Linked DNA regions of Homo sapiens: all the other regions are linked to region 1. The links are contacts of gene promoters, found by promoter capture Hi-C in blood cells and fetal thymus (Javierre and others, 2016). All regions are on one chromosome and are shown on one strand. The core of a region is centred on a gene start or on the middle of the fragment in contact, and the rest is flanking DNA. Distances in the headings are between cores, read along the strand shown.

The links. Contacts are between HindIII fragments. The CHiCAGO score rates a contact against its expected background, and 5 or more counts as called.
Region 2: a fragment that was not itself captured here is called in contact with the fragment with the promoter of FAM120C in region 1 in 1 of 17 cell types (monocytes); the score reaches 5.3 in monocytes.
Region 3: a fragment that was not itself captured here is called in contact with the fragment with the promoter of FAM120C in region 1 in 2 of 17 cell types (total B cells and total CD4 T cells); the score reaches 6.3 in total B cells.

The regions. Positions count from the first base shown.
Region 1 is chrX:54,181,881-54,184,580 of GRCh38, reverse strand. FAM120C (family with sequence similarity 120 member C) reads left to right here and starts at 1,327. Exons shown (of 16, transcript NM_017848.6): 1 at 1,327-2,081. The coding sequence starts at 1,383. RefSeq lists silencers at 895-994, 1,565-1,774, 1,785-1,834. The HindIII fragment of the contact is 3,156 bases long and covers 1-2,700 here.
Region 2 is chrX:54,535,151-54,537,850 of GRCh38, reverse strand. All of the region lies in intron 2 of GNL3L (G protein nucleolar 3 like), which reads right to left. Among named protein-coding and RNA genes, the nearest start is that of GNL3L, 6.3 kb to the right of the region's middle. The HindIII fragment of the contact is 6,851 bases long and covers 1-2,700 here.
Region 3 is chrX:54,643,756-54,646,481 of GRCh38, reverse strand. It overlaps a transcript of GNL3L not described here. Among named protein-coding and RNA genes, the nearest start is that of GNL3L, 110 kb to the right of the region's middle. The HindIII fragment of the contact is 5,734 bases long and covers 1-2,726 here.

The DNA of each region.
Region 1 (2,700 bases), core at 78-2,577:
GAAGACAGGCACTGCATCTGTTTCATCTCAGTATGTTGAAAATACATTTTTCAAAAGATTATGACTCCATACATCTGAAATTAGAGCCCTTGCAGCTATTTAGAAAAGCTCCCGACAGACTAAAACACAATGAAGTTTGGAAACCAAAGGCCCTAACCATAGGACATAGTGGATCTAGGAGTACCAAAAAGGTACAATTTGTAATGTAATTTGTGTTGGTAATTATCTCCCTGCCCAAAGAGATGCTGAGGGCAAGGATATTCGATTTAACTTTGTCTCTGCATTGCCTTAGGCAAGTAAATAATGTAAGTTTCTTTTTATTTATTTATTTATTTTTGAGACGGAGTCTGGCTCTGTCACCAGGCTGGAGTACGGTGACATGATTTTGGCTCACTGCAACCTCCGCCTCCCAGGTTCAAGCGATTCTCCTGCCTCAGCTTCCCCAGTAGCTGGGATTACAGGCACGTGCCACCACGCCCGGCTACTTTTTGTATTTTTAGTAGAGACGGGGTTTCACCATGTTGGCCAGGATGGTCTCGATCTCCTAACCTCGTGATCTGCCCGCCTCGGAGGGATTACAGGCGTGAGCCACCGCGCCCGACCAGTTACGTCTTTCTTAATTGGGACCAACAGCTCTTTAAATATTATCTTTCCACTAAGGGGAAAATCCTCCCTCCTGGGGAGTTTTAGCTCACTTTAGCTGAATTCAGTCAATCCACTCTAACTTCCATTCCCATGATGCATCAATCCATCCCCCAAAACTCTTTTTCCAGGAAAAAGCAGTAAATAACCTAAGCAACTCAGTGAGATGCAAGGAGTTGGAGTGCAACTCCTAAACACTCATCATCACGCCCCGCTTCCTGTGACCCTGTGAGCACAAGGGCTGAGAAGGGTGGTAGTCTGGTTCCTCGACTATATCCTAAGGCCATAGAGAAGACTACAACTACCAAGATGCCCCTCTCCCCGCCCCGCCCCGCCCCTCCTCGCTCCCCTTCCTCCAGCTAGAAAGCGTGTACCACCGAGAAGACGAGGCAACATGGCTCCCGGAGGTGGAAGAAAGAGGCTTCACCCCTTCTAAAGCGGGAAGAAGAGCGGCCGGAAAGGAGAAAAAAGAGAAGTGACTAGAGCCCATCCTCGCTTTTATCCTCCCAGCCTCTCCCGGGTCCGGTCTGCCCCTCCCCTTCTCTCTACCCAAATCCAATTTGTGGTCTCCTCCCCTCCCCGCCCTCATTCCCTCGCTTCCTCACCCCTCCCCTCGGGAATCCTTTTCCCGCCCCCCCTCGCCCCCCGCGGAGTGCGCACGCGCCCGCCCCCAGCTTCGCGCCCAGATCGTCGCCTATCCTGCTTGCGCAGCCGCTATCGCGTCTGCCCACCGACGAAGCATGGGTGTCCAGGGCTTCCAAGAGTTCCTGGAGAAGCGCTGTCCCGGGGCCGTGGTGCCCGTGGACCTCCTAAAACTCGCGCGCACGGTCTCGCGCCAGCAGCAGCAGCAGCACTTGCACCGCCAGCTGCCGCCGACTGCAGCCCTAGCGCCCGGGGCTCCACGCGCCGCCAGGGGCTCCGTGCCTCTGCAACCGCCGCTTCCGCCCGCTGCCTTGGGTGCCTACTCCGGGGGCGCGGGGCCGACTCGGCACCATCACCCCGCTCACCACTTCCACCATCATGGCCAAGCGCAGCCCGGGCTGCACCCTCCGCTGCCGCCGCCGCCGCCCCCTCAGCTGCCCGGGGCCCGGGTGCTGGTGGACGCCGGCTCGGCGCTGCCGCGGCTCTATGGCGGCTACCAGACGGATTGGGTGTGTGGCGGCCAATGGAACGCCATGCTGGGCTACTTGTCAGCGCTGTGCCAGGCTTGTGCCTATCCTGGCGGCGACGGCCTGGAGCTCGTGGTCATGTTCCCGGGGGGCCTGGGCAAGGACCGGCTGGCCGAGTGGGGCCGTCGGTGCCAGGCCGAGCGGCAGACAGCGCAACTGATCGTGGGACACGTGGGCAACAAGGGCACCCCTCCACCGCGGGCCTGGTTCCTGCCACCGGCCTGCCTGAGCCACTGCGTGAGGCTAGCACTCATCCGCTTCCGGGTCAAGGTGAGGGAGGGGCCGGATCTTAAATAATAAGCCCCACACCTATTCCCTCCCAACTAAATACCTAACCACCTACCCACTTACCCACTACCCTACCTCCCATCTACCCACCCACCTACCCGCCCAACAGCTAACCTACCTGCCTAACTACCCTCTACCATTTTATCCATTTACCTCCCCCTTCATACCACCCCCTACGGATTCACTCACCTACATGGCCATATCTCTACTCATGTCATCCCAGTAGCTCCCTTTAGCTTCCCTTATCCAATTGGCCTACCACTAGGTTTCAGCAGAATCTAGTCAGAATTTCTTTTGTAGCCTCATCTTTCTCCTGGTGTCTTCTGCCTCAAACTGAAATGCCTTTACCCTGCTTTTGCCAGTTGACATCTCTCTCCTGTATCTCTTTCCAACCTCGCAGTAAATCACTTAAGCAGGTGTGAACTGAACACCTTTCTTCTACATTGTTTTTCCGTCTTCACCCACTGCTGCTTTTTTACCCATCTGTGTCCATTCAGCCTTTTTCATTTCAACATGCATCTTCTTCCTCCTGCCTTAGCCTAAACACATAAAAACCCACTGATTCAGTCACTGTTCAGCAAGTATTAACTCACTGAGTGTA
Region 2 (2,700 bases), core at 70-2,569, 350 kb before region 1:
GATCCCTTGAGCCCAGGAGTTCTAATCCAGCCTGGGCAACAAAGCAAGACCCCATCTCTTAAAAAAATACACAAACACAGACTGCTTTAACAGTCAAAACTTAAGCTGGGCACAGTAGCACCTGCCTGTTGCTAGCTGGGAGGCTGAGGCAAGAGGATCACTTGACCCTAGGAGTTCGAGAACAGCCTAGGCAACATAGTGAGACTCTGTCTCTTAAAAAAATTCAATAGAAATAGTGAAAAACAAAAAAGACATCACTAACAACCAAATTAATAAGCTAGAAGACCAAAGGAGGGGCTTACTTAGAGCAAAAATTCAAAGAAATTGAAATGATGAGCAAAAATATAAAAGAAAAAATGGACAATAGAGCCAAGACAGCTAAAATCTAAACAGGAGTTCCTGAAAGAGAAAAGGGTACAAATGGAGAAGCAATAATTTTCTGAATAACAGACGAAAGTTCCTTAAGTTGAACATAGGCTTGAGGTTTCAGACTGGAAAGACACAGGCAGCAGCAAGATTAACAACCAAGGCCGGGTGCCATGGCTCACCCTGTCATCCCAGCATTTTGGGAGGCTGAGGTGGGAGGATCGCTTGACACTAGGAGTTTGCGACTAATCCAGGCAACATAGTGAGACCTTGTCTATATAAAAAAAAAAGTTTAATTAACCAGGTGTGGCGGCATGCACCTGTAGTCCTAGCTCTCAGGAAGCTGAGGCGGGAGGACTGGTTGATCCCAGGAATTCAAAGTTATAATGAGCTATGATGGCACCATTGCACTCCAGCCTGGACAACAGAGACCCTGTCTCAAAAAAAAAAAAAAAAAAGATTAACAACCAAAAAGACATACCCTGGACATATCCTGATGAAATTTCTGAACTCTAAAGATAAAGAGATAAAATTCTAACCAACAGATCACTCTTACTTTGTGAAAGTAAGAAAAAGACATTTTCAGGTGAGCAAAGATTACCACTTGCCTTTCTTTCTTTCCTTTCTTTCCTTTCCTTCCTTCCTTTCTTTCGTCTCTCCCTCCCTCCCTCCCTCTCTCTCTCTGTTTTTTTTTTTTTTTGAGACAAAGTCTCGCTCTGTTGCCCAGGCTGGAGTGCAGTGGTGCCACCTGAGCTCACTACAACCTCCACCTCCCAGGTTCAAGGAAATCTCCTGCCTCAGCCTCTGGAGTAGCTGGGATTACAGGCGTGCACCACTGTGCCTGGCTAATTTTTTTATTTTTAGTAGAGACGGGGTTTCGCCATGTTGGCCAGGCTGGTCTCAAACTCCTGGCCTCAAGTCATTGGCTCGCCTTGGCCTCCCAAAGTGCTGGGATTACAGGCATGAGCCACCACGCCTGGCCCTGTGTTTCCTTTTGGATAAAACTACTGGCAAAATAAAAATTAAATCAGAATAAAGATCCCAAGCTAAAGGAAACAAACAGTGGTGGGCAGGAAATCTACGGAAATCTACTAAAACTTATCACTGAGGCCAGGAGCGATGGCTCACAGCTATAATCCCTGCACTTTGGGAGGCCAAGGCGGGTGGATCACTTGAGGTCAGAAGTTCAAGACCAGCCTGGCCAACATGGTGAAACCCCATCTCTACTAAAAATACAAAAATTAGGAGTTTGAGACCAGCCTGCCCAACATGGTGAAACCCCGTCTCTACTAAAAATACAAAAATTAGCCGGATGCCTGACTTGAGGTCAGGAGTTTGAGACCAGCCTGCCCAACATGGTGAAACCCCGTCTCTACTAAAAATACAAAAATTAGCCGGGCGTGTTGGCACGCACCTGTAATCCCAGCTACTCGAGAGGCTGAGGCAGGAAAATTGCTTGAACCCAGGAGGTGGAGGTTGCAGTGAGCCAAGATCGCACCACTGCACTCCAGCCTGGGCAACACAGCAAGACTCTTGTCTCAAAAAAAAAAAAAAATTAGCCAGGTGTGATGGCACATGTTTGTTGTCCCAGCTACTCAGGAGGCTGAGGCAGGAAGATCACTTGAGCCCAGGAGGCGGAGGTTGTGGTGAGCCATGATCACACCTGCACTCTAGCCTGGCCGACAGAGTGAGACCCTGTCTCAAAAAAACAACAAAAAAAGGATTCTTAAAATCGAAGAAGCATATCATAAGGAAATAGCTCAGAACTGAAATACCAAATTATTTCAATAAAATCCAGGAATCAAGTAATGGGGGTTGGAAAAGCAAAAGCATGAAAGCATGCTAAAGGTTTCATTTTGAAAGGGTAGGTTACAAAATAGTCATTATTTAACTTTGGTAAAGTGATAAATACAGAATTAATTATGTTTGATATAAATATGAATACAATTACCAACATAACTTAATTACCGATGGAGGATTGTTTAAAAACTTCATCAAGTTAGCAAAACATAAATAAGGGAATAAGAGGAAACAAAATAAATAATAAATATAAAATAAGATGGTAGAGAGCCGTGCACGGTGGCTCACACCTGTAATCCCAGCACTTTGGGAGGCTGAGGTGGGCGGATCACTAGGTCAGGAGTTCGAGACCAGCCTGGCCAACATGGTGAAACCCTGTCTCCACTAAAAATACAAAAATTAGCTGGGCATGGTGGCAGGCACCTGTAATCCCAACTACTCGGGAGGCTGAGGCAAGAGAATCGCTTGAACCCAGGAGGCGGAGGTTGCAGTGAGCTGAGATCGCGCCATTGCACTCCAGCCCGGGTGACAGGG
Region 3 (2,726 bases), core at 30-2,529, 460 kb before region 1:
GCAGTGATCTCAGCTCACTGCAACTTCCCCCTCCCGGGTTCAAGCGATTCTCCTGTCTCAGCCTCCCGAGTAGCTGGGACTACAGGCGCGTGCCACCATGCCTGGCTAATTTTTGTATTTTTAGTAGAGATGGGGTTTCTCCATGTTGGCCAGGCTGGTCTCGAACTCCTGACCTCAAGTGACCCGCCTGCCTCGGCCTCCCAAAGTGCCAAGATTACAGGCGTGAACCACCATGCCCAGCCACCATTCATTTTTTCTATAAACCTTAAACTGCTCTAAAATATGAAGTCTATTATTTTAAAATAAATAAATAGCAATATATGCACATTATATAGAAATATGGACATAATATGAGGGGAAACAGCTAGAACTGCATTTGTTGACATGGAAAGAAGAATAGGGTATGTGGAATGATAGGATGGAGGCTGACTTTTTTTATTAAGAGCCTTTAATACTGTATTAATCACTTAATACAAAGTAATAATTACCTTTATAAACAATATTGATTTTTTAAAGAACAAACATAAAATAATAGAATAGCCATCATTTATCATTTCTCAGTAAATTCCACTGCAGTTTGTTTAAATAGTCTACTTGGATTAAACAATCTGTGCTAGCATCTCCACATTTACAATTAATGATGTTTATTCCCATAGATATCCAAGGAGCATATAAAATGTCTCAGAAACGATAATATGCAGCAAAGAAACATGGAAGGGATGGATGGCTGGCATTCAGTGGAGTCCTCCCTTAATATAGGCACATCTTCAGTCCTTGAATGGTCAGGGACTACAAAAAACAGTTTGGGAAATGCATGGACTCCGAACAAAGTTCACATGTAAGAAAGCCACAGACAAATCTCACTTATACATATTGATGTAAAATAAATAAAATATTAACAAATGGAATTCAGCAGTAAATTGAAGAAGTAAAAACTGTGGGGTCCATTCTAAGAGTGCAAGAGTTATTCAATATTAGGAAATACACATAATTCATTGTACTAATAGGTCAAATGAAAAAACCCACACGGTCATCTCAATGGATGCCCAAAAGATGAATTTAACAAAATTCAAGATGTATTTCTGATTTAGTTATCTAGGAATGGATACTTTCTTGACATACTTTTTATACTCTATATTTCTAACCGAAAACCAGTATCATGCTGAATAATGAAATGTGAGACTCTCCATTAAAGTCAGAGAAAAGGTGCAAGCCCCATTATCACCACTATTACTATTCTGAAGGCAATACATAACACAATTAGACAAGATAATTAAATGAGGCACAAACTTGGGATAGCTATTATAGGAGCAAAATAATCTCTATTTGTTGATGACATAGCTGTGTAACTTGAAAGCCTGAGGAAATTTATGGAAAACCTATTAAAAACAATAATAGGATTTAGTGACGTACTGGTAATTGCTTTCCCACAACCAGTTCAAAAAGATAAGGGAAAAATATCCCCTTCACAATAGCAACTAAAATAGGAATAAACCTAACAAGGAACACATAAAACATATAAAAATAAAACTTTAAAATTCTACTAACATAAAAAATTGAATAACTAGAAATCCATACCTTACTCTCCAATAGGAAGATTCGATATTATAAAAGACAATGATTTTCTCTAAATTAACCTATAAATTCAATATAATCCCGGTCAAAATGTCAATAGGCAATTTTATATTATTTTTACTTTCACAATGTGTGCTAAGATTCACCTGGAAGAATAAGTATGTGAAAACAGGCAGAAATTTTCTGAAAAAGAAGCAAAAGAGGCTTTGCCCAACCAGATATGAAGATATATATTTTGAAGTTACATTAATTACAATGGGGTGGCACTGGTGCAGGCACAGACATTCAGATCAATAGAATAAAATAGTGCAGAAATAAACAAAAGCACATATGAAAACTCCATATTTGATAAAGGTGACATTCCAATTCAATGAGTCAATAATTATTAGTCAATAGATGGTACAGAGACAGTAGACTTAGCATTTGAAAGGAAAAGAAGCTAGATCCCTGTCCTAAATCCTACCCCAAAATAAATTCCAGATAGATCAAAGATTTAACTGTAAAACTGAAACCATAAAAGTACTAGCAGACAACATGGATGAATCATTTTTAATACATAATTTTGGAGTGGGTAAAGTATTTGTAATCACTGCAGTTAAAATGGCTTTTCTCAAAAGGACAAAAAATAACGGATGCTGGCAAGGATGCTGAGAAAGGAGAATGTTTGTACACTGTTAGTGGGAATGGAAAGTAGTACAGCCACTATGGAAAACAGTTTGGAGATTCCTCAAAAAACTAAAACTAGAACTGCCATATTATCCAGCAATCCCAGTGCTAGGTATACATCCAAAAGAAAGGAAATCAGTATATTGGAGAGATATCTGCACTCCCATGTTTATTGTAGCACTATTCAATATAGTCAAGACACAGAATCAACCTAAGTGTCCATCAACGGATGAATTGATAAAGAAAATGTGGTATATATACATAATTGAATATTATTCAGCCATACAAAAAGAGTGAAATCCTGTCATTTATAACAACATGCATGACATTATGTTAAGTGAAATAAGCCAGGCACAGAAAAACAAATATCACATGTTCTCACTCATACGTGGGAGTTAAGAAAACACTGATCTTGTGGAGGTAGAGAGTAGTAGGATGATTACCAGAGGCTGGCAAGGGTAGTGGAGAGGTGGGGATAAGGAGGG